Regions from separate parts of the Homo sapiens genome. Here regions 1, 3, 4, 5 and 6 are each linked to region 2. The links are contacts of gene promoters, found by promoter capture Hi-C in blood cells and fetal thymus (Javierre and others, 2016). All regions are on one chromosome and are shown on one strand. Each heading gives the region's core, a stretch centred on a gene start or on the middle of the fragment in contact. The rest is flanking DNA. Distances are from core to core; before and after follow the strand shown.

The links. The method cuts DNA at HindIII sites, captures the fragments that hold promoters and counts their contacts. A CHiCAGO score of 5 or more calls a contact.
Region 1: a fragment that was not itself captured here is called in contact with the fragment with the promoter of HSPA4 in region 2 in 1 of 17 cell types (fetal thymus); the score reaches 8.3 in fetal thymus.
Region 3: a contact is called between the fragment with the promoter of CARINH here and the fragment with the promoter of HSPA4 in region 2, in 1 of 17 cell types (fetal thymus). The highest score is 7.7, in fetal thymus.
Region 4: a contact is called between a fragment that was not itself captured here and the fragment with the promoter of HSPA4 in region 2, in 1 of 17 cell types (M1 macrophages). The highest score is 5.8, in M1 macrophages.
Region 5: a contact is called between a fragment that was not itself captured here and the fragment with the promoter of HSPA4 in region 2, in 1 of 17 cell types (naive CD8 T cells). The highest score is 5.6, in naive CD8 T cells.
Region 6: the fragment with the promoter of IRF1 here is called in contact with the fragment with the promoter of HSPA4 in region 2 in 1 of 17 cell types (fetal thymus); the score reaches 5.1 in fetal thymus.

Annotation. Positions count from the first base shown.
Region 1 is chr5:132,386,300-132,389,882 of GRCh38, forward strand. SLC22A5 (solute carrier family 22 member 5) reads left to right here. Exons shown (of 10, transcript NM_003060.4): 5 at 726-852; 6 at 2,622-2,722. Among named protein-coding and RNA genes, the nearest start is that of MIR3936HG, 18 kb to the left of the region's middle. RefSeq lists enhancers at 142-191, 332-541. The HindIII fragment of the contact is 2,434 bases long and covers 325-2,758 here.
Region 2 is chr5:133,050,570-133,054,386 of GRCh38, forward strand. It overlaps HSPA4 (heat shock protein family A (Hsp70) member 4), which reads left to right and starts at 1,444. Exons shown (of 19, transcript NM_002154.4): 1 at 1,444-1,788. The coding sequence starts at 1,682. RefSeq lists enhancers at 731-1,693, 880-929, 1,000-1,049, 1,240-1,419, 2,658-3,620. The HindIII fragment of the contact is 9,846 bases long and covers 656-3,817 here.
Region 3 is chr5:132,408,945-132,412,537 of GRCh38, forward strand. It overlaps CARINH (colitis associated IRF1 antisense regulator of intestinal homeostasis), which reads left to right and starts at 1,985. Exons shown (of 4, transcript NR_161242.1): 1 at 1,985-2,097. RefSeq lists an enhancer at 1,334-1,383 and silencers at 1,624-1,923, 1,994-2,283. The HindIII fragment of the contact is 5,230 bases long and covers 1-3,593 here.
Region 4 is chr5:133,984,303-133,987,719 of GRCh38, forward strand. All of the region lies in intron 5 of VDAC1 (voltage dependent anion channel 1), which reads right to left. Among named protein-coding and RNA genes, the nearest start is that of C5orf15, 17 kb to the left of the region's middle. The HindIII fragment of the contact is 1,116 bases long and covers 753-1,868 here.
Region 5 is chr5:133,965,429-133,968,883 of GRCh38, forward strand. It overlaps C5orf15 (chromosome 5 open reading frame 15), which reads right to left and starts at 3,197. Exons shown (of 3, transcript NM_020199.3): 1 at 3,018-3,197. The coding sequence starts at 3,156. LOC105379183 (a long non-coding RNA gene) reads left to right here and starts at 3,261. Exons shown (of 2, transcript NR_134247.1): 1 at 3,261-3,364. RefSeq lists enhancers at 2,391-2,490, 3,121-3,340. The HindIII fragment of the contact is 3,928 bases long and covers 210-3,455 here.
Region 6 is chr5:132,489,034-132,492,368 of GRCh38, forward strand. IRF1 (interferon regulatory factor 1) reads right to left here and starts at 1,740. Exons shown (of 10, transcript NM_002198.3): 1 at 1,512-1,740; 2 at 359-450. The coding sequence starts at 445. RefSeq lists silencers at 572-621, 1,152-1,431, 1,692-2,141 and enhancers at 613-1,260, 2,282-2,421, 2,555-3,200, 2,692-2,901, 2,942-2,991. The HindIII fragment of the contact is 1,939 bases long and covers 292-2,230 here.

The DNA of each region.
Region 1 (3,583 bases), core at 292-2,791, 660 kb before region 2:
TTACTGCAACCTCCGCCTCCCCAGTTCAAGCGATTCTCATGTCTCAGCCTCCCGAGTAGCTGGGACTACAGGTGCCTGCCACCACACTTGGCTAATTTTTTTTGTATTTCTTTGGAGAGACGGGTTTCACTGCGTTGGCCAGGCTGGTCTGGAACTCCTAGCCTCAAATGATCCACCGGCCTTGGCCTCCTAAAGTGCTGGGATTATAGGAGTGAACCACTGCACCTGGCCAAACATGCTATTTTAGGTAGAGTATCTGACTAATCTGTTGGATAAATCAGGGGTAGGGTGAGGAGAGAAGAGAAGCTAAAAGGCCAGTGCAGAAGCTTCTGTTGGTGCCGGGGACAGGGAGGAGAGTGTAGCAGGGCCTGGGCTGACATAGACATGCACAGAAGCCAGGCTTCCGGAGCCCATCTTGCACCCATCTCCTCAGCCCAGCAGATGGCAACACTGCTCTTCAGAAATGGAGGTGGCCAGCCAGCATGGGGATGCCGTCAGGGGGTGCAGGGCTCTCCCATTTTTGTGCGGTGTGGGGTACACATAAGCTCATCCACCCCAGGTTATTGCTGCGTGTGGATCAGCTCTTTGCTTCTGGCTTGTGATCACCAAACATTCCACAAGCTCTGGTTCTGCAACCTTATTCCCACCTATGGCTGTGCTCTACCTGGTCTGTGGGTCTGCTGTTGGCAGGGAGGCCTCACTGAGATTGGACCTTGTACTGCCAGGTTCATCCCTGAGTCCCCCCGATGGCTCATCTCTCAGGGACGATTTGAAGAGGCAGAGGTGATCATCCGCAAGGCTGCCAAAGCCAATGGGATTGTTGTGCCTTCCACTATCTTTGACCCGAGTGAGGTAAGCACCATGTGGGTGTGGGTGAGAGGGACAGACTGACCGTGATTTGAGAGCAGCAGCACCCAGCCCTGAAGTCCTCCCTGCTCACAGCAGCCCAGCCCTCTCTCCGCCCAAGCCCCAACTGCCCATTCCCCCCATCCCCCCACTCCCCACCCCCACACGGGCCCTGTTAACACTCAGAAGTTGAGGAATAGGTTACAGCTGCCTCACTCTTTTCACCACGGGTTTCAGATTTTCATTTTTTACTTCCTTTCTAGGCAATCATATATTTTAACCATTACTTCTAACAATAAATACTCTTTTTGAGTAATAGGCCTTTCATAAAGTCAGCATTTGGGAAAATCATTGTTTCTTATACCTAAGGTGGCTTGTCACCTTACAAAGCTAACCCCAAACGTAAAATGTAAAGCACAAATAGATTTGGAGTTAGAAGTATTTCATCTCTTGAGTATTAGCAATTATTCATTAAAAAGAAAAAAAAAGTGTTTAGTCTCTTTCTGCCCTCCAATGGTTAATTATTGCATATCATCTTGGAGTCAGGTCCTTTTTGATGTCCACCTCTTCCCCCTACCCCACCCCTCCCGTCAGCCCTGTTCTCACACACCATGACTCATTTCTTGGCTCTACCTAGTTCCTGGTTCTTGCTTTTCCTTCCCGTTCCCTCTCCTACCATCTCTGTAGCAGGCAGTTTTCCTTGGTCTCGTGACTATGAGAGGTTAGAAGCTGTAAATGCTGCCTGGTGGGGTTCTGGAATGTGTCTGTGGTCTGACTGGAAGATGAGGGGTTGGGTGTGGGAACAGCCACAAGCAGCCCTGCTGAAGTGTGAGAGGCAGGCATGGTTGGGCTTGGAAAAGAGGGAACAGTTATTGTAGACAGCGGAGGCCAATGGCCACTGCCAGCCCTGCAGACTTCCCAGTGAGTGGTGGCCCAGCAGCCACTGTCAGCATGCACCAGAAAGGGGTCCTGTGCGCAAAGGTCAGGCAGGAGTGTGGCAGAGGGCTTTTAAGTTAGGTGGTTTTGGGGGCTTTTAAGTGAGGGGTCAATCTGGGTGAATGCATAAGCCCCACTGGCATCTTTGAGGAAATGAGGCTATTTCAGGGGATACTTTCAGTCCAAAGTTGACCTTTTGTTGAACTTCTAACTCTGGAAAAACAAGCTCCAAACCTGGGTTTGCTTAAGAAAGCAACATCAGTGTGTTTAGACGTGTGGTTTATTAATGGCCTTGGCTGTGCTGAATTTCATAGGAAGTCACTCTGGGTGAAGCTCAGGTCAATTTTCCTGTTTTTCTATTTGAATTCTTTTTCCCTGGAAGCACACCAGTAACTACATAGTATAAGGACTCAAAACATTAACTTTTAAAAAATATCAGACCAATAAACCACACAGCCAGGTACTCTCTCTGACCCAGAGGGCAGGGAGCCAGGCTTCGGGAGGAATACTTAGAGGCCTCCTTGGAATGTGGCCACCGACAGGAATATGTGGGGGTGCAGTGAGGAAGCTGTCAGCCTGGGCCTCTGTCTTCCTGTACCCTTGAGGGACTGGTCACTTACTTTTCCTCATTTTCATTCACTCTGATTTGTTACTGACAAGGCCTAGGGAAGTTTTCACAGCCTAAAACACAGTCAGTATACTTACTGTTCTTAGAAACGTAACACTCCCCGACGCTGAGATGCAGACAGCTAAGATGCCAGGGATTCAAGTATGTTATTGTGTGCTCTGAGTCTCTGACCACCTCTTCTTCCCATACACTTATGATGTTGTTCCTGCAGTTACAAGACCTAAGTTCCAAGAAGCAGCAGTCCCACAACATTCTGGATCTGCTTCGAACCTGGAATATCCGGATGGTCACCATCATGTCCATAATGCTGTGGTATGTAAAAGAGACCTGCCTGAGGCTTCCAGACAAAGCTTCTTGAAGTGGCCATTGGGCCTCTTGTTTACAGACATGCCTCAGACAAAATTCAAAGCCTATGTCATCAGAGAGTGAAAAGGATATGTCTTGTGTTAGATGGAAAAAATGGGCATGTCACAATTCTTAATGGGATGGAACCTCAGAAAAGGAGAATGAAAACAATTGTGGAGGCTGTTGTGGGAAATATGGACTCTTGTGGGGAATCTCTCCAGATCTTAAGATGAATCCTTGCCCAATTTGGGTCATTTAGTTCCCGTCTCCTACCCAGTTACCGACAGTGGCTGAGGAGGCCAGGTAGGGCTTTTAAGAAGGATCTGAGTGAAGACACCATGTCCTGTAGGCTGCAGAGGCTGCCAGTTACTTTCTGGAAATGTGGAAGTGGGATGTGCTCCTCCTGGGATGTCCATAAACGGTCCTGGAGTCAGGGCTATAGCCTAGATGTCCTTACCAGGTTCCCACTAATGAGGCAAAGTATGTCAGAAAGGGATTTGTGAATTACCAGGGAGAGGAAACATGTCCAAGTGCACATCGCTAGCTTTTGCTCAGCGGCCGAACCCTGGGATTCTAGGCGACTTCTGGAGCCTGGTGGGTTAGCGGTGAGAAGATGGGCGAGGAGGGCGGACTTCATCTCAGAGTCCTTATTACTAGTCTCATCCAGCTTTGAGGCAGTCAGCCACTGTGCCTACTGAGGGAGTGCTATGAGTCACCCGCTTCCAAGGAATGGCCCAGGATCCCTCCAGGCAGTTCACCATTCCCTGAGTTGGCCTCAAGACAGGAGCAGCATGTAGCCTGCACCACAGACATGCAAGCCTGTGATGA
Region 2 (3,817 bases), core at 194-2,693:
AAATGTGAGAACAGTGTGGCCATTTGCAAGTTTTAATGGTAATCAACCCGGGTTTGGGGTTGCTCCTATAGAGTGAAGTACCTCCGGAGGTGGCAGGAAATGCAGGTATTTAAAGGGAAGGGCATACCAGGGCAATGTAATTTCTTCTTTGCTCATTCACTTTTAAAATGGCTGAAGGGCAGGTACTCTAGCCTTGAGACCTTCAACTCATGATGTACCCTCCAGCAACGGAGAATTTCTTTTTAGTCCTTAAACTATGGTCTCTATTGCTAGTTTTCCAAACTTGAACACAGCCTTTTCCTTTTCTGGGAAGTTGTCCTAGTCTCCACCATTCTGTGCATATAGCACTCGCCATTCTGTACTGGGGTCACCTTTACTTGTTTAGCCACCCTCATGATGGGGATGATCCAGGTTTTGCAGAGGTGAAACTTATATACCATTGGGGGGCCCTACAAATACACAAAACAAATAATTAAAACGACAAATCACAACACATTACTAGAGACTTGGAGATTCAGATTCTCCTTAGATCTCTCTGGGTAATTTATTAGAAATGCTTACATAGATTTGCTTCCTAATCTCAAGCTGGCTTCCCCTCTCCACAACTCAGCAACTATCTATTCTCCCAGGAGGCCATACAAGCGAGGGGCCCTGAAGCTTAACATTTATTAACTTCATGTAAAGGTCTGAGCGGACCTTTCAGGCCAGGCAGCGTGTCACTTGCCTGTGTTCCTTGTTAGGGCCTACCACCGGGTAGGTGCTTGGAATGTGCTGTGGATTAAAGGCTTAAATCCTGCGGGCCCCTCAATCTGATCTAAGGACATGAGTGGCTTAGAGAACGGCGCAACAAGGCTAAGCGAAAGAAAACAAAGCGGTGTGGCTGGGAGTGGGCTCCTTCCCTCCGCTGGTGAGGGTGCGATCTTAGACTCTTGAGAGAACCCGACATAAAGGCCGCGTTCCAATGGCGGCCTTCTCCCCTACCGGCCAACCTGCCCCGAAAAGAGCAGAAGGCACCCTGCGGGATCTGCAGATCAGCTTGCGTCTCATTCTGGGGCACCGACACGGTGGAATGCAAGACACCCCACTACCGGAAGTTTCTTTGATGTTAAGAAAAACGGCGGAAGTAGGCCGCAGCGCTTCCTCAGTATAGTGCCTCGAGCTGGCTCGCCTACTTTCTACGGTAAAGGGAGGTGCTCCACATCTCTATGCAGCTGTGCAGCGCCGCAGGTTCCATGCGCAGGCTCGGTTGGCTAAATGCGCTTTCCAGCCATCTTTCAGCCACCCAGTCCTTTCCCAGGTTCTCGAGCCAGGACGTGACGTATTCAGACGTACTGGGGGCGGGGCCTCAAGGGGAAAAGCGCCTGAGCCGGGATATCGCGAGAACATCCCGTTCTTTCGTAGCTCTGGTGCTGCGGCTCCGCTCTCGTCGCAACGAGATCTTTCGAGATCTTCTCCGCCCCCGCTACCGGCGCCTCCTCTGCGGCCACTGAGCCGGAGCCGGCCTGAGCAGCGCTCTCGGTTGCAGTACCCACTGGAAGGACTTAGGCGCTCGCGTGGACACCGCAAGCCCCTCAGTAGCCTCGGCCCAAGAGGCCTGCTTTCCACTCGCTAGCCCCGCCGGGGGTCCGTGTCCTGTCTCGGTGGCCGGACCCGGGCCCGAGCCCGAGCAGTAGCCGGCGCCATGTCGGTGGTGGGCATAGACCTGGGCTTCCAGAGCTGCTACGTCGCTGTGGCCCGCGCCGGCGGCATCGAGACTATCGCTAATGAGTATAGCGACCGCTGCACGCCGTAAGTGTGGGCCGGGCCTGCCGCGTGCACTGGGGTTAGGAGATAATGCTTGTTCCAGTCTGGGACCCTCGCTGCTTGGGGAACGCGGGCCGAGGAGTCGCCTCCGTTCCGAGCCGAGGTCCCGGTAGGTCAGGGACCCCCAGTAGGTATTAGGACACTAGGGGCCGCGGCCCACTATGAGCGTGGGTGTGTGCTAAGCGCGAGGGCCTTTTCCCCGGTGGCCCGTCGGCCGAAGAAAGGCTTCTGGCCGGTACTCGGACCAGCGGAGGGCACGGGTAGGAACTGGAAGGACTGCAGGCCTAGGATGTAAACGGATCGCGGTCCTTTTCTTGAGGGCAGAGACCAGGCCCAGGTCGTACTGAGTCTTTTGAGTCCAACAGAAAGCTCAGAACTTTGCACACAGCAGGCGCTTAATAATAGTTGAATCGAACGGGTTCTGGGGCTTGCCAGCCGCGAGACCGTGGAGCGGTCAGCGTCCCACGTGAGTGGGGGCGGGGCAGCGCCCGGAAGAGAGCGAGCTGGAGCAGCCTCAGGCACGGGTTCCGGATGGACTCGGGGTCTTGAGATTGGGTTGGCACGGATAGGAATTTAATAAAATCGGTGCTCTTATGATAACTTTGCAATCGCTTTTGTTTTCCACATTATTTCGGGATATTGTGCTATATTGGGTCACTCTCTGTTTTGTGCGCGTTAACCCCTCAATAGGGTTGCACTTTAACGATAATGCATTCTAACCAGTGTGTTGGCCACAATTGTTAGTGGCTCAAGGGCCCGCCTTGACTTCTAGAACCCATAGTAAGTTTTGGGACCAGCATAGACACAGTTCTAAAAAATGGTGGGTCACTCAGGTCTTTCACTGGTTACAGTGTCTGCCTTTTGAATACTTGTAGATACATTTTAATCCGTTGTCGTGTTCTTAGACAAAATCTTGTAAGAAGTTCTGTATTATTTGCCATTCAGGGTCTCTCTTCTTTTTTTTTTTTTTTTTTTCTTTTTTGAGACAGACAGGGTCTCACTCTGGCTGCCCAGGCTGGAGTGCAGTGGTGCGATCTTGGTTCACTGCAGCCTCGACCTCCCTGGCTCCTGGCTCAGGTGATTCTCCCACCTCAGCCTCCTGAGTAGCTGGCGTTGCAGGCGTGCGCCACCATGCTTGGCTAATTTTATTTATTTTTAGTAGAAATCGGGTTTCACTATGTCACTCAGGATGGTCTCGAACTTCTGGACTCAAGCAGTCCTCCAGCCTCGGCCTTCTGGAGTACTGGGCTTACAGGCATGAACCACCGTGCCCTGCCCAGGGGCTCACTTGTTATTGATTGATTGAGATGGAGTCTCGCTCTGTCGCCCCAGGCTGGAGTGCAGTGGCATGCTCTCGGCTCATTGCAACCTCGGCCTCTGGGGTTCATGCGATTCTCCTGCCTCAGTCTCCTGAGGAGCTGGGATTACAGGCGCGTGCTACCATGCCCGGCTAAATTTTGTATTTTTAGTAGAGACGGGGTGTTGTCGAGTTGCCCAGGCTGGTCTCGAACTCCTGACCTCAAGTGATCCTCCCGCCTCGGCCTCCCAAAGTGCTAGGATTACAGGCGTGAGTCACGGTGCCCGGCCCCAGGGGCTCAATTCTAAGGTCCATTATTTTCACCCTCAATTTTTGTCACATTTCTTCAGCAGGTTTCAGCGAAACTAGATTGTTCAGAAGTCTCACATTTCCTTTCCACTTGTCAAATTTCCGCACCCCCCACCTCCTAACCCAGGTGCTTCCCCTGAAAACTCATCCCAGAAGCCAAAACGGTAGTTTGCTGTCCCTTTGCTGAGTTTAGTCTTGTTAACAGCCCTATTAAGGTTTATTTATTTATTTATTTATTTTGAGAAAAGGAGTCTTACTCTGTTCCCTACGCTGGAGTGCAGTGGCGTAATCTCGGCTCACTGCAGCCTCCGCCTCCTGGGTTCAAGCGATTCTCCTGCGTCAGCCTCCCGAGTAGCTGGGATTACAGGTGTGCGCCACCACGCCTGGCTAATTTTTGTCTTTTTTAGT
Region 3 (3,593 bases), core at 735-3,234, 640 kb before region 2:
ATACCACATGATAGTAGGGAGAAATAATGAGGTAATAATGCATGTAATGCATTTAGCATAGCACTTCTCTAGCAAATAGTGAATGAAATCAGTCAGTTGTCATTCTGACTTTATGCAACAGTGCTAATCGACTCTGGTACACTGGAAGTCAGATGAGATTTTTGGCCCCACAAAGTCAAGGACCAAACCTGGACCTTGGGAAGTTGCCAAGATGAAAAACATCAGGCCGGCCTTGACCTCCTGATGCTCTCTGTTCACATGTGTGATGTCTATAAAAGGTAACCAGGATTTGGCTTATCTGCTTACATCTCTTCCTGTCTTTTCCTGATCTTCATCTTCCCAAACATAGTTTTTATGCAGAAGCAGATTTAACTCTACTTTGCTATCTTGGAGTCAAGAATTGTCCTATAAGGAGGAAGAGGCTCCAAGGCTTGCCTTTTTTGTTTTTTCTTTTTCCTTCATACTACAGACTAAAAGTAGCATCTTCTGGACAGAGAAACAGGCTGTTGTTTTTCTAAGGTCATCATTTGGCCTGCCCCACTTTCCCACCTGCTCTTGAGGGAACTATTGCAAGGACACATACAAGCCCCTACATCAGTCACAGACCAGGGCCTCCATCTTGCAGGGAATGTGCCCAAATTACAAACAGGTAAACCAAAGTGACTCTGGGCAGATTTAATAGCTCATTTTGGTTTCTTGTTCCAGTTATAACAGACTGCTCTGTGTTTGCTCTATGGCAAAAACTTTTATGTTTGCTTTGCAACAAACGTACAGACAGGGCAAACTGTGTTTGGAGTATGGTGTCTTACCAATGTTTTCTAAAAGCAAGTGAATAGAAATGCTTGCAAAAGTATTTTCAGACCTCAGTGGCCAGCGCTGAACACCGCTGTAGGAATGTCCATCAAACGTTGTGGCCATGCTCCACTCTAACAAAAACCTGGTTCCGTGGCATAATTGTGGGGGCTAATTGTCAGGCTAAGTTTCAGACACCTTCCAAAAAAAATTGCAGGGCTTCCTCAGTCTTTAAACTCCAGATAATATTGTCCAAACTTTGACAACTAACCTGTTATCATGGAGATAGCTCCAAGTTGATGGACTGGCCATTAGAGAATGTCTATCAAGCATCCAGGTAAATGACTTGGTTGCTGCCCTCAAGGAACCCACTTAGAGGCTGTCAGAAAATTTTAAGTATTTTCTTCCTTCTATTGTTCATTCCTAAAATTCTGGCAGTAGGTATGATTATTATTATTCCCATCCCACAGGGGAAGTAATTAAGTCTAACTACTTGAATATTTTGCCCCAAATCACTGACAGTAAGAGACGGCCAGACACTGAAACCTGGAATCTCTAAATGTTTAGATATTGATGGGCACCGCTTAGACCAGGGAGTCCAAACCATAGGCTTGCTGTTCCAGTTTCTCTTATCGGATGAAGGGACCCCCATTTCACCGACGTCATTGACTTTTGGGTTCTCCGCTGACCCCAGATGAGATGCCTGGTACCTCATGGTCAAGTCCCCTCCAACGGGGACTCCTCAGAGGCTTGGTCCCAGTTGCTCAGGCTGCCATCTGCCTCCTCAGGCCAGAGCCCGAGGCGCCGCCAGCGGTCAGGTCCCGGGCCGGCTGCCAGCCACAGGCCCAAGTAAACGCTGAATGAAGGGCAGATGGAGGAACCTGTCCCGGTCGGCCGAAGCGCCGCGGGCGCCTTTCCACTTACGGCGGGCCTGCCCAGCCTCCCGCCCAGCCCGGGCCCGGGTCCCGCCGAGGCAGGTGTGCGTGGCGGACTAGCTCTCGGGCACTCGGCTGGCCCAGCTCCACCCCGAACGCCACCGGGCCAGGCCACGCGCAGACCCGAGCCCGGGGCCCCCGCCTCTGGCTGCCGGCCCGCGCCCGCCGCGCGCCCCGCGTTCACTGCGCGCTCGGCCCCGGTCCCGCCTCCCGGAGGGTTTCGCTTTCGCTTTCCTGCCGATGTCGTTGAGGAAAATGAAAGCGGTCGTGGCCAGGACTGGCGCAGCTGCCGTTTCAGGCGAGGGGCGCAGAATGCAGCGGCCGCCAGCCTGGAGCGCGGGCCCTGGGGCCGCAACCCGCGCCGGGCGAGGTAAGCACAGCCCCTTCGCGGCCGCCTCGCGGGCTCCTCCTTGCGGACCCGGCGGGCCCGACGCCAGGCGTTTGACCCGGGCAGGGTCAGGGGTTCTGCCGTGGGGGCGGGGAGGGCCTGAGAAGCGGCACCCTTGGGTTTCGTGGCTTTGAGCCTCCAGGCCAGGCTGGAAGACCTGGGAGGCCTCAGACAAGCGTGCCAAGGGGCTAGCAGCCCGGGGTCGAGCTGGAACCGTGGCAAGTCGGGCCACCTGAGCACGCCTTTCCCTTTTGTAGAGCACCGACCTCCCTGGGTGTTGGTAAAAATCAAAAGTGGGAGGGTGTACGTAAAATGCTGAACAGAATGCCTAACCTGAGCTCATAATCTACTCCCTCTGACCTGTCAGACTCATTTTTCCCACTGGGCCCCACCCCATACCTCATGTAGTTTGCTTAAGTTTCCTAGATCTGGTGCACCTGGGGGCACTTGGAGTGCCTTCCAAGTGTTCCTTGACCGAGCAAGCTGGCAGCTCATCTCCCTTGATCACGGGCATGGAGAGCAACTAGGCCAGGATGTGGCCCCCTTGCCCTGGCCCTGTCCATGTGAAGTCAGGGCCTTACTCTGCTGGGGCCCCCATCCCGGGGCTAGCATAGATGTCAGGGATAGGTGCACTCACAGACCGAGTCCTTCCCAGACCAGGAAATTTCCAGTCCACTGCATCTGCCAGCAGAAGCATGAAAGATGCGTGCCACCTTGTCTTTGCCCTTCGTCAAGTATAGCCAACTCATTCTTGGTATGCAGGAAGGGGGTTCCACCCCAGGGCTGTGGAAACAGCCCCTGCCCTTAGGGCGTTCCCATCCCCTGAAGAGAGAAAATATGTATTCAAGTTACCCATCAGGCAGGTTGTGTAGAACAAGGACAGGTGAGTGAAAGAGCTAAGAGCTGAGAGTAAAGTGACTAAATCATCAGAAACTTTACATTTAAGTTATGACAGGTTTTGCAGGCCAATACCAAGAATCCCCTTTAACTCAATTTTTGTCTCAATAATAATGAATTCAGCCTAATCACACAGATCTGATCATACGGCCCATTACTGAAACAAAACTTGAATGATCTTTACTTTGAGAAAACCATCTGAATTTGACAAAAGATGGTCTAAGTTCCTAAGTTTCAAAACATGGAGTCCGCCGCTGCCCTACCTCAGCAGGATGGTGTTGAGTACTGATTGCTTTTAGAAAATGCTGCTCTTGCCGGGCACGGTGGCTCACGCCTGTAATCCCAGCACTTCAGGAGGCCGAGGCGGGCTGATTACCTGAGGTCGGGAGTTTGAGACCAGCCTGACAAACATGGAGAAACCCCGTCTCTACTAAAAATACAAAATTAGCCAGGCATTGTGGCACATGCCTGTAATCCCAGCTACTTGGGAGGCTGAGGTAGGAGAATTGCTTGAACCCGGGAGGCGGAGGTTGCAGTGAGCCAAGATCGCGCCACTGCACTCCAGCCTCGGCAACAAGAGC
Region 4 (3,417 bases), core at 61-2,560, 930 kb after region 2:
TGCCTGCCTTAGCCTCCCAAAATGCTGGGATTACAGGTGTGAGCCACCTCGCCTGGCCAGGTATTTCTTTAGAGCAATGCAAGGACAAGACTATAGGCGCTCACCACAATGACCAGCGTGTGTGTGTGTGTGTGTGTGTGTGTGTGTGTGTGTGTGTGTGTGTGTGTAGATGGGGTTTCACCATGTTACCTAGGCTGGTCTCCAACTCCTGGGCTCAAGCAATCTGCCTGCCTCAGCCTCCAAAAATGCTAGGATTACAGGCGTGAGCCACCTTGCCTGGCAAGAATAGCCTAATACAGCCATGACGACCAAGGAATGCATCATAGACAATCCCATAAAAGAAACAATGCCAGCCGGGCACAGTGCCTCACACCTGTAATTCCAACACTTTTAGAGGCCAAGGCAGGTAGATCACTTGAGCTTAGGAGTTCAAGACCAGCCTGGCCAACATGGCAAAATTCCATCTCTACTAAAAATACAAAAATTAGCTGGGTGTGGTGGTGCACACCTGTAGTCCCAGACACTCAGGAGGCTGAGGCAGAAGAATCGCTGGAACCCGGGAGGCAGAGGTTGCAATGAGCCAAGATCACGCCTCTGCAGTCCAGCCCGGGTGACAGAGTGAGACTGTCTCAAAAAAATAAATAAATAAAAATTTAAAAAGTAAAGATGCTTATCTAACCTCCCTTTGGTCACAAGTTTTGCAAGAGTTTTCTGCAAGATGGTCTAAGACATGCACATGTCTTTACTCTAAAAGCTTGCTATATAAAGAATACTTTCTGGAGGATGAATGCAGGGATCCACTGTCTCTTGGCTGCTTGAGACATCGCTTCTATTTGTAAGTCTCTATTAAATGTTTCTTTCTGAGAAACTGGATTTGTCAGTCTCTTTCTTTGGCTGCTCAGCTCCCTCAGCAGTTGGGAGTAGGTGTGCACAGACCTGCTCACCAACAGAACAAGTGACAATGAAACTTATGCCTTGGAACCTCAATTTTGTTCAAGTTACTTCTGTACATTTTGGCAAGGTTTGAAGGAAAGGAGTAACAACCAAATTATCTCTCAATAAGAAAAATCCAAAACTGGTCAGGCGTAGTGGCTCACACCTGTAATCCCAGCACTCCAAGGAGGGCAGATCACTTGAGGTCAGGAGTTGGAGACCAGCCTGGCCAACACGGAAAAACCCTGTCTCTACTAAAAATACAAAAATTAGCAGGACGTGGTGGCATGTGCCTGTAATCCCAGCTATTCAGGAGGCTGAGGCACGAGAATTGCTTGAACCTGGGAGGTGGAGGTTGCAGTGAGCTGAAATCACATCACTGCACTCCAGCCTGAGCGACAGAGCAAGATGTCTCAAGAAAAAAGAAAAAGAAACCTATCTTCATCTGCCTGCTCTTTGGGGAAAGAAGTCTGGGTTTCAGCCAAGTATGTGATTGGCACCAGGCTGGTTGAGATGACTGATGATTAGACAGCTGTTGAGAGGCTGACATTTACAAAGGGAAAAGGAAATATAAAATCAGGCATCTTCTAACCATCTCCTTTTTCAATTTTTAATAAAAAGCTGCTGATGATCACAAACTATGATGCCTATGGCAGGGCCTCTGACCAGTGGTGTGCACCACCTGCACCAGTTGACATGGCACCCCCACCCACTGTCTCACTGGATTCTGGCCAGGGCCCACAATCCCCAAGAGAAAGGGCAGTGCTGGGGAGTGGCTCAGGCTTCTCTCCAGGTCTCTTTCTAACACTGCACACCATGTCTGTGGAGTCTTCCTCTTTCAGATATTATTGGGATTTATTTTTAAGCTATTTCAACAGTAGTGCTAATTTGACAAGCACCCGAGAGAGGCCTGACTGATTTGTGGTTAACAAGCAAGCTTTATTTGTGATGGATACTCAGCGTGGGTGCTGGTCCTTATTGAGGTCTGTGGCCTCATCCAGATGTGGTCTACACTCCGCTCCTCCTGGGAGCCAGGTGTTTTCCCAGGCTGTACCCTCAGTCACTTTGGAAAGCCAGCTTTCGTTTCTAATCTCCATGATGCACCACCAGAACTTTCCTCAAATACCCAGTAGCATTATGTACATCTAGCACCCAGAATTTTAGTTTTGTTTTTTTTTTGAGATGGAGTCTTGCTCTGTCGCCCACATTGGAGTGCAGTGGTACCATCTCGGCTCGCTGCAACCTCCACCTCCTGGGTTCAAGCAATTCTCCTGCCTCAGCCTCCTGAGTAGCTGGGATTACAGGTGTGCGCCACCACACCCAGCTAATTTTTGTATTTTTAGTAAAGACAGGGTTTTGCCAGGCTGGTCTCAAACACCTGACCTCGTGATCCACCTGCCTCAGCATTCCAAAGTGCTGGGATTGCAGGCATGAGCCCCCGCGCCAGGCCTACAATCTTAGTTTCTAAATATCATTCTCCAACATAAAGAACCAAGGCTCCTTGGAGAAATGGCAGATAGCAGGACTGGGGAAAAACAAGTACTAGATGAGCGTGGTACACTTTCTAAAACCAGAAATAAAGACATGCTCTGAAAAACGACAGAGGTTTGTCAAAAAGCACACAGAGTGTATTCTCCCAAAGCCCATATCTGGGACAACTTGAGCGACAAAATAAATGACACTGTGCATTATAGCCCATAGAGTAAATGTCCATGCATCTATACTAATATAAATAAATAATTGATTAAATAAATACATGGGGAAGAAGGAATAGCTCTTCCTTACGGTAGAATACCAATTAACAAGTGAAGGAAGGATGGCAATAGAAAATTACCATTTGAGGCCAGGTGTGGTGGCTCACACCTGTAATCCCAGAATTTTGGGAGGCCAAGGTGGGAGGCAGATCACTTGAGTCAGGAGTTTGAGACCAGACTGAGCAACATGGTGAAACACTGTCTCTACCAAAAATATAAAAATCAACCAGGGGTGGCAGCAGGCACCTGTAGTCCCAGCTACTGGGGAGGCCGAGGAGGGAGGATCCCTTGAGCCAGGGAGGCAGAGGTTGCAATGAGCCGAGATCATACCACTGCACTCCAGCCTAGGTGACAGAGTGAGACCCCATCTCATAAAAACAAAAAAGAAAAGAAAATCACCATTTGTAGCCAGGCGTGGTGGCTCACACCTGTAATCCCAACAATTTGGGAGGCTGAGACGGGTGGATCGCTTGAGCTGAGAAGTTCTAGACCAGCCTGGCCAACCTGGTGAAACCTCATCTCTACTAAAAATACAAAAATTAGCTGGGCTTGGTGGCACACGCCTGTGGTCCCAGCTACTTGGGAGGCTGAGGAAGGAGGATTGCTGGATCCCAGGAGGCAGAGGTTGCAGTGAGCCAGGATCACACCACTGCACTCCAGTCACCATTTGCCAAGCGTAACTGTTGCAGGCAAGAATCACCAATGGATGTTACTATTTTTGAGCAAAAGT
Region 5 (3,455 bases), core at 924-3,423, 920 kb after region 2:
TGTAATACAAAGGCTATCAACTTACTCAAACTCCTTCAAATCAGAGAAGTTGATTAAGTCAGATATGAAGAGTATTCAGAACAAAGGTACAACTCTGACTTTACGGATTTAACTGTTGACCTTCTATGAGCATATAAATAAGACTTCTAAATCTTCCCTTTCCTAATTGATATTACCTCTCTACTTGAAGCTTAACATTTTAAAAATAAAGCTTAGGCCGGACACGGTGGCTCACGCCTGTAACCCTAGCACTTTGGGAGGCCAGGGCAAGTGGATCGCTTAAGCACAGGAATTCAAGACCAGCCTGGCCAACATGGCAAAACCCCATCTCTACAAAAATACAAAAATCAGCTGAGCACGGTGGCAGGCACCTGTGGTCCCAGCTATTCAGGGGGCTGAAGTGGGAGGACTGCTTGAGCCCAGGAGGCGGAAGTTGCAATGGGCCAAGTTTGTGCTACTGCACTCCAGCCTGGGCGACAGAGCAAAACCCTGTCTCAAACAAACAAACAAAAAAGGCTGGGCACAGTGGCTCAGGCCTGTAATCCCAGCACTTTGGGAGGCCAAGGCGGGCGGATCACGAGGTCAGGAGATTGAGACCATCCTGGATAACACGGTGAAACCCCGTCTCTACTAAAAATACAAAAACTAGCCAGGTGTGGTGCGCGCCTGTAGTCCCAGCATACTCGGGAGGCTGAGGCAGAAGAATCACTTGAAACCGGGAGGCGGAGGTTGCAATGAGCCGAGATCACGCCACTGCACTCCAGCCTCGCGACAGACTCAAAAAAAAAACAAAAAACAAAACTTTATAAATTTAATTCTCCCCTTCTACTGGTCCCTTTTTAAAAACTGCCCTAAAATAAAACTATATCAGCATTTCTTAAACTTAAGAATGCAGAGGACCCCGAGAACTCATTCACACACTGGTTTGAGAAACAATGCCTTAAAAATGAAATGCATTATACATTAAGTTTAGGTGATCATTTGGGGACAATATAATGGCAAATGTAGAGAACCAGGCATTTTTGAAATGGCATGACCAAGAATTAGTCACCCAGTGATCCAAACTGCTTATGTTAATTTTTTAGACTTGATCAAAACAAAAACATAAAACAAAAATTCTTACAGACTGACGAGCATATAACCAAGCATTGACAGTTTTTAAAACCTAATATGGAACAAATTTAAATAAATCTAATGTGGTAACCTTCTACCTTTGTAAACTCACTTGAAATTTGGAACTCAACACATTCTAGACTAATTTTCTTATTACAGGAGTGACTACTTTGAAATTATAAGGTATGCTTACAAAAAATACTTATATCCCAAGCTACACTGTAGTGCAGTGGAGCTGCTCGCCTATTAAAGACATGTATGTTCGTTTTCATTTAGCTTCTTTTCAGGACAGAATAATCTGAATTTATGACATTTTAAACTGGTGTATGTAAAGACTTAATTTAAAAGATAAAGATTCTCTAAAATGTCTCAGTATAGTTAGAAAAATATTTATAGGGCTCTAACAAATAAAAGCAGAGACTAAAGGACACTTAACAGTCCACATTCTGCCTCACTTCTTGCCCAATTTTCAACCATCTCTTAGGGGAAAAAAGCTGTTTCTGAAACTACAGTTGCCAGATATATATCCCTTAAGCATTCCAGCAGGAAATATAAATGTTTGTGTTTTATTTTTCTTAGATGATTAAATGGCCAAAACAATTAAGCTACTTAAGTACTTTAGGAACGGGAATATCTGCATCAACCAGGGAAATCCTCATTACATTTCACTAATGATAAAAGGGCCTTAGGAAATGGACAGCAGTCCTTCCTCAGGGACTGCAAAGACTTCTGGGAGGGCGTCCAGTTAGCAACACTGAAATGTTGCTGAGGAAACATAAGTATGTACCCACAGTACTGTCGCAGAGGAATGTAGGGCTGGACAGGCCCTGCTGGCAAGAAAGAAAACACTATACCAGGTCACACTGTTTTGCAGCTGAAAATTCAAATTTAGGGAGAAACGCAGGACTGTGTCTTGGCCTGAAAGAAAAATGGGACTACTAAACAAAATACCGTTTAATCCTTACAAGTTCTTAATAGTGGATTTTTCCCACCAAGTATCAGGCACTGGTTTACAGATTTCCTAATTTCTCAATAAAAGCCTTCAATCTCTTGATTTCACCATGCAACATTTGCAAGAAATGAAATATTTTATCAATCAAATCCTACAGATGCATTAAAACGAGGCAGGGTTATCCTGGTTAACTCGGAACACAGGGAAGAGGAATCATGATCTCCCTTGTCTCCAAACTCCTCTCTGCCTCCCAAGCCTTCAGGGGCCCAACGCCCCAGTACTCTGAATCTTTATCAAACACCAGAACCTCCCAGTCTTCAAATATGCACCAGTACCCTAAGACAGCTCTTTCCCTTTCACTTTCCCTCTCGGAAATATTCCATTGGTTCAGTCCAGTCACTGGATTACTGCCCCTGCCCGCCTCGGTCTTTACCACTGACCTCTCCCATTCTGGAAAACCCCCACCTTTCCTTGGTCCTGCAAGATTCCTGAGTCCCCCAAACTCAGGACCCTTTCCAGACACCACACCCCCAGCCCCGGCCACCTCCTCAGCCCCTGTCGCCACCCTCTCTTCCAGAGTCTCCTAACTTTCCGATCCAAGAAATTTTGGAGACCCCACCACCGCCATTCCTTGCGGCAGCCCATTCTTCAACGATCTCTAGGCGCTAACACCACTCCTCCCTCCCCGCCCATCTACACACCCTGCTGCCTGCTCCCTGGGTTCCTGCATCTCTCAGGGACCCCGCTTCTCAGGCCCCTTGGAGACCCTACCACCTTGGACCCCTTCAGACACCATACCCTCCGTCCTCAGGCCCGCGGAGACCCTGACCCAACCAGACACCGCCGTCTGCTCCTGACACTTGGAAGCGCCCTTTCCCTGGCCCGGCCTGTCTCCTGCCCTGCGCCCGAGCCCTCCTAGCCTTCCTAAGCCCACACTGCCGCCCCCCTTTACCACTGGATAGAGCGGCGGACACAAGCAGGAGCGCCAAGACCAGCGGCCGCGCCAACCCCACAAGGGCTTGGATGGCCGACCCGGGCAGCAGTTTCGCTTGTGCTGGCCCCCTCATCCTCTTCGGGACGGCAGCGGCCATAACGGACTCGGCTGGGAGCCTGCGCTGTTGCTAGGCTCTACGCCATGAGGTCAGACGCCGCGGCCCTCGGCACATACGTCCCAGCGTGGTGACGTCGAAGCCTGGAGACGTGCTCTGGAAACCGGAATAAGAAGGAAGGATTGCAGGGAGGAGGGAGTTGCCGCTAGGCGAAAGTGGGGACCGCCACACAGTTGGCTGCGGATTAAAGGTAGGGTGTGACGTGCTGAAGAGGGCCAAAGCGAGCCCCTCCCTGCCGCCTGCATGATTGGGTACTATACAGCCAAAAATAGCGTTTTTAG
Region 6 (3,335 bases), core at 490-2,989, 560 kb before region 2:
CATCCACTTCTCAGTCTTCTATTTGTTCGATTGGAGCCCTGCAGAGTGCTGTGTATGTTTGTAAGGGTCTCGCTTAGAGGAGAGCAGAACTCCAGCTCTGCAGATGCTGGAAAGTCTTGCTGCTGGAAACTGGAAGTGCCTTCAGGTGGGTGCCCTACCTCAAGAAGGGAAGAAGGCAGGAGTCATGCAAGTGAGGCCCAGGCTGGGCCGTGCACACTCCCTGCATGCAGGACCCACTGGGAGAAACACCTGCTTGTCCCGTTATCACTTCCCTTTTTGAGCTGCATCTGAAGCTTTGGTCCCTCCAGAAGTACATGGGTTAAAACAGTGGCAGGAAAACCCAAAGAGTTACACTCACTTTATTAATCCAGATGAGCCCCGGGATTTGGTTGGAATTAATCTGCATCTCTAGCCAGGGTCTCATGCGCATCCGAGTGATGGGCATGTTGGCTGTAAAGAGAACACAGAGGCTCCAGTCTGGAATCTGTTGAACAGTACCTGGGCAGTGACCTGCCCCACCCGAGGTCACTTAGTTACCCTCCCCTCACCTCAGCCAGCTGCTAGGTACTACACTCAGTGCGGAGGGGAGCTGCGCTGGAATAAAACTGCTCTCCAAATTTTTTCAGCATCTTAGGCAAAAATGCTTTTGCCCCTTCCTTCAGCCCCTCCCAGCCAGTCTCTGGAGGAGACAGGCATGCAAGTGATGGCTTCAGGATTCATATGCAGGAAAAGAGACAAAATGCACAGATACCCTAATTTCAGAACTTTTCGCTCAAAATTCAAATCCTTTGGGAAGGGAGGGACTTCTTTTGCTTGATGCCAAGAAGAAATTCCCTTGACTTGAGTTGTAACCACTAGCTAGCAAAGGGCTAGCCGTCACCCTGAACAGCCCCCTCCCGCCCCCCTGAATCCATTCTACGCCTTCCTGACAGCCACAGCGCCCACAACGCTAAGACCAGGACGCTAACCCTTCCGGCCCGGTTTCCCCTCCTCTGGAGAAGTGGCCCAAGGAACACCTGTGGCGCCTCTTCCCGCAGTCTCCGTAGGTCACGATTCCCTCCAGCCACCTGGGCAGTAAGCCAGCCCTTGCCACCAGCACAGGGAGCCCAAAACCTGTCGCCTGGGCGCGGAGCTGGGACCGCCGAAAGCCGGGAGCACTGGGCGCCCACGCGTGGGCTGACACTCGGTCCCCGGCACGGCGTGTGGATGCGCGGGACGAACATAGCGGGCCACCTACAGGCCCCTGGCGGCTGCGCGCACGCAGATCTGCGAAAGCTGCCGGGCGCCGGCAGCCTCGTCCGGGTGGGCGGTCCACGCCGCGTCCCGCCCTCCCCGCGCCGCGGCCCGCGGCTCGCAGCTCCTCCGGCGCCCCCCGGAGCCCGCGCGGAGGCCCGGGCAACGCCGCGCGCCGGCGAGTCTCCAGCCTGGAGCTTTCGACCCCCCACTTCCTGGTGCCCCGCGCGCCTTTTATTCGACGCCGCCGGTGCCCCGCGCCTCAAAGGCGTACTCACCTCTGCTGCAGGAGCGATTCGGCGGTCGCGCGCGAGGGTCCCGGCGACGCAGGGGCTGCAGTGAGGGCGCGCGGAGCGCGACTCCGAGTGGAAGAGGGAAGAAGGCAGAGGTTGCCGGGTTCTTAAGGCCGCCGGGCACGGCCGGCGTGGACTGGGCACGGCTCCGGGTGGCCTCGGTTCGGCGGGGCTCGGGCGCACGTCTTGCCTCGACTAAGGAGTGGCGAGCTCTGCCAGGGCAGCGGCGCCACCGAGCAATCCAAACACTTAGCGGGATTCCCCAGCCCTGGCCGGCCCCGCCCCCGGACAGCCGCGCGGGCGCCCATTGGCCGGCTGCGTGCCGTCATTTCGGGGAAATCAGGCTGTTGTAGAGCTAGCGGCGAAGGGGAAGTACAGGGCGGCTGCTCCGCCCCACCCTCTCCGGCCGGGCGCCACCGCCCCGGGGCCACCGCGGGCCCGCCCCGAGCGCTCCCAATCCACCCCTGCTCCGGCTTGCCCGGAGGAGGGCTGCCCGGGACAGCCCAGCGCCCCTGGCCCCAGCCTGTCCTCTCACTCCGCCTTGTCCCAGCCGGCTGGCTCCTGGGGCCATCTTTTCACCCTCCTGGCGGGGCGGGGGCGGGGGTATATCTCCCGAACGCAGGTGAGGGGATCGCCCGGGCACTTGCCGCCCTCTCCAGTGGGAACACTGGGCCGAATCTCCCGACTGGCAGCCTGGCTCCTCAAGCTTGCCAGTGGGATATCAAGAAGGGAGGGTTTCAGTCCTAGCACTACCCCTGTTTTTAGGGGTGACCCCCTCCCTCCAGGTCACTCACCTGCCCTGGGGAAGTGAAGAAGGCAGAAAGCCTACCCTGCCCCGTGTGCTGTCTGGGGCTGCTGGACCAGGGGAAATCCCAACTTGGCCGCTGCTGGCACAGCCCCCAAGGGACGCAGGACCTCTGTTTTTCAACCATAAAATAATAGTAGCCCTACCTTGATGGTTTGCTGTGATGGGAAGAGATTGTAAAGCACTATGCTCCACTCGGGCAACAGACGCTGAGTAGTTTTCAAGGTCGCCGTTGCAGGGTCTAATAGTGACCAGGATGACACCCCACCCCTTTTCGGTCTGCCTCCCTGGGACTCCCCCTGGCTGGCTTTAGGGAACAGAGGAGGAGAAGGGGTTCAGAGAAGCCCAGACGGCTGAGTGAGGGTAGGGGTGGGCTAGCTCTGATCCCTCCTAGCACTCTTGCCTCAGGCCGCCTCCAGAGCCTCCCTGTGGCCCGCGTATGGGAGTTCCGCAATGGAAGCATTGCTGTCATCTCTGAGTCCCCAGGGCTTGGCCCAGAGAGGTTCTGGGCAGCATGGAGGAATTAGCTCAGGGCTGATCAACGCCATGGGGCTAGCCAAAGGGTTGGGGAGCCCAGGTCCCATGCTCCTTGGTAAGGCCCCTACTTAACTCTCGCGCACAACTAGTCCCCGCCCCACGTATAGTCCTAGAGACTTGACTGGGTGTTCATTTTCCATCCAAAACTCTGGCCCAGGAGGCTTCTTCCTTCATCTCCCTAAAGCTCCTGCAGAAGTAAGTTACTCTCCCAGGCGTGTCATTTCCTTCACCCCAGCTCTCCCTCCAGGGCAGCACCCCATTTTGCAGGCTATAAATAGACACACCCATGCAACATTCGACTTGCCAGTCACTCTACCTCCCTCCCGTAGAGGAAATGCATGGGTTAATCCCATTCTGGCGCATTGCAATCTGAGTGCTGTGACCAATGCCAAACCTGGTTCCCAGGATACCAGCAGGAATGGGCAAAACTGTCTACCAGATAGAGGTGGGTCAGGAGCTAGGAGAGG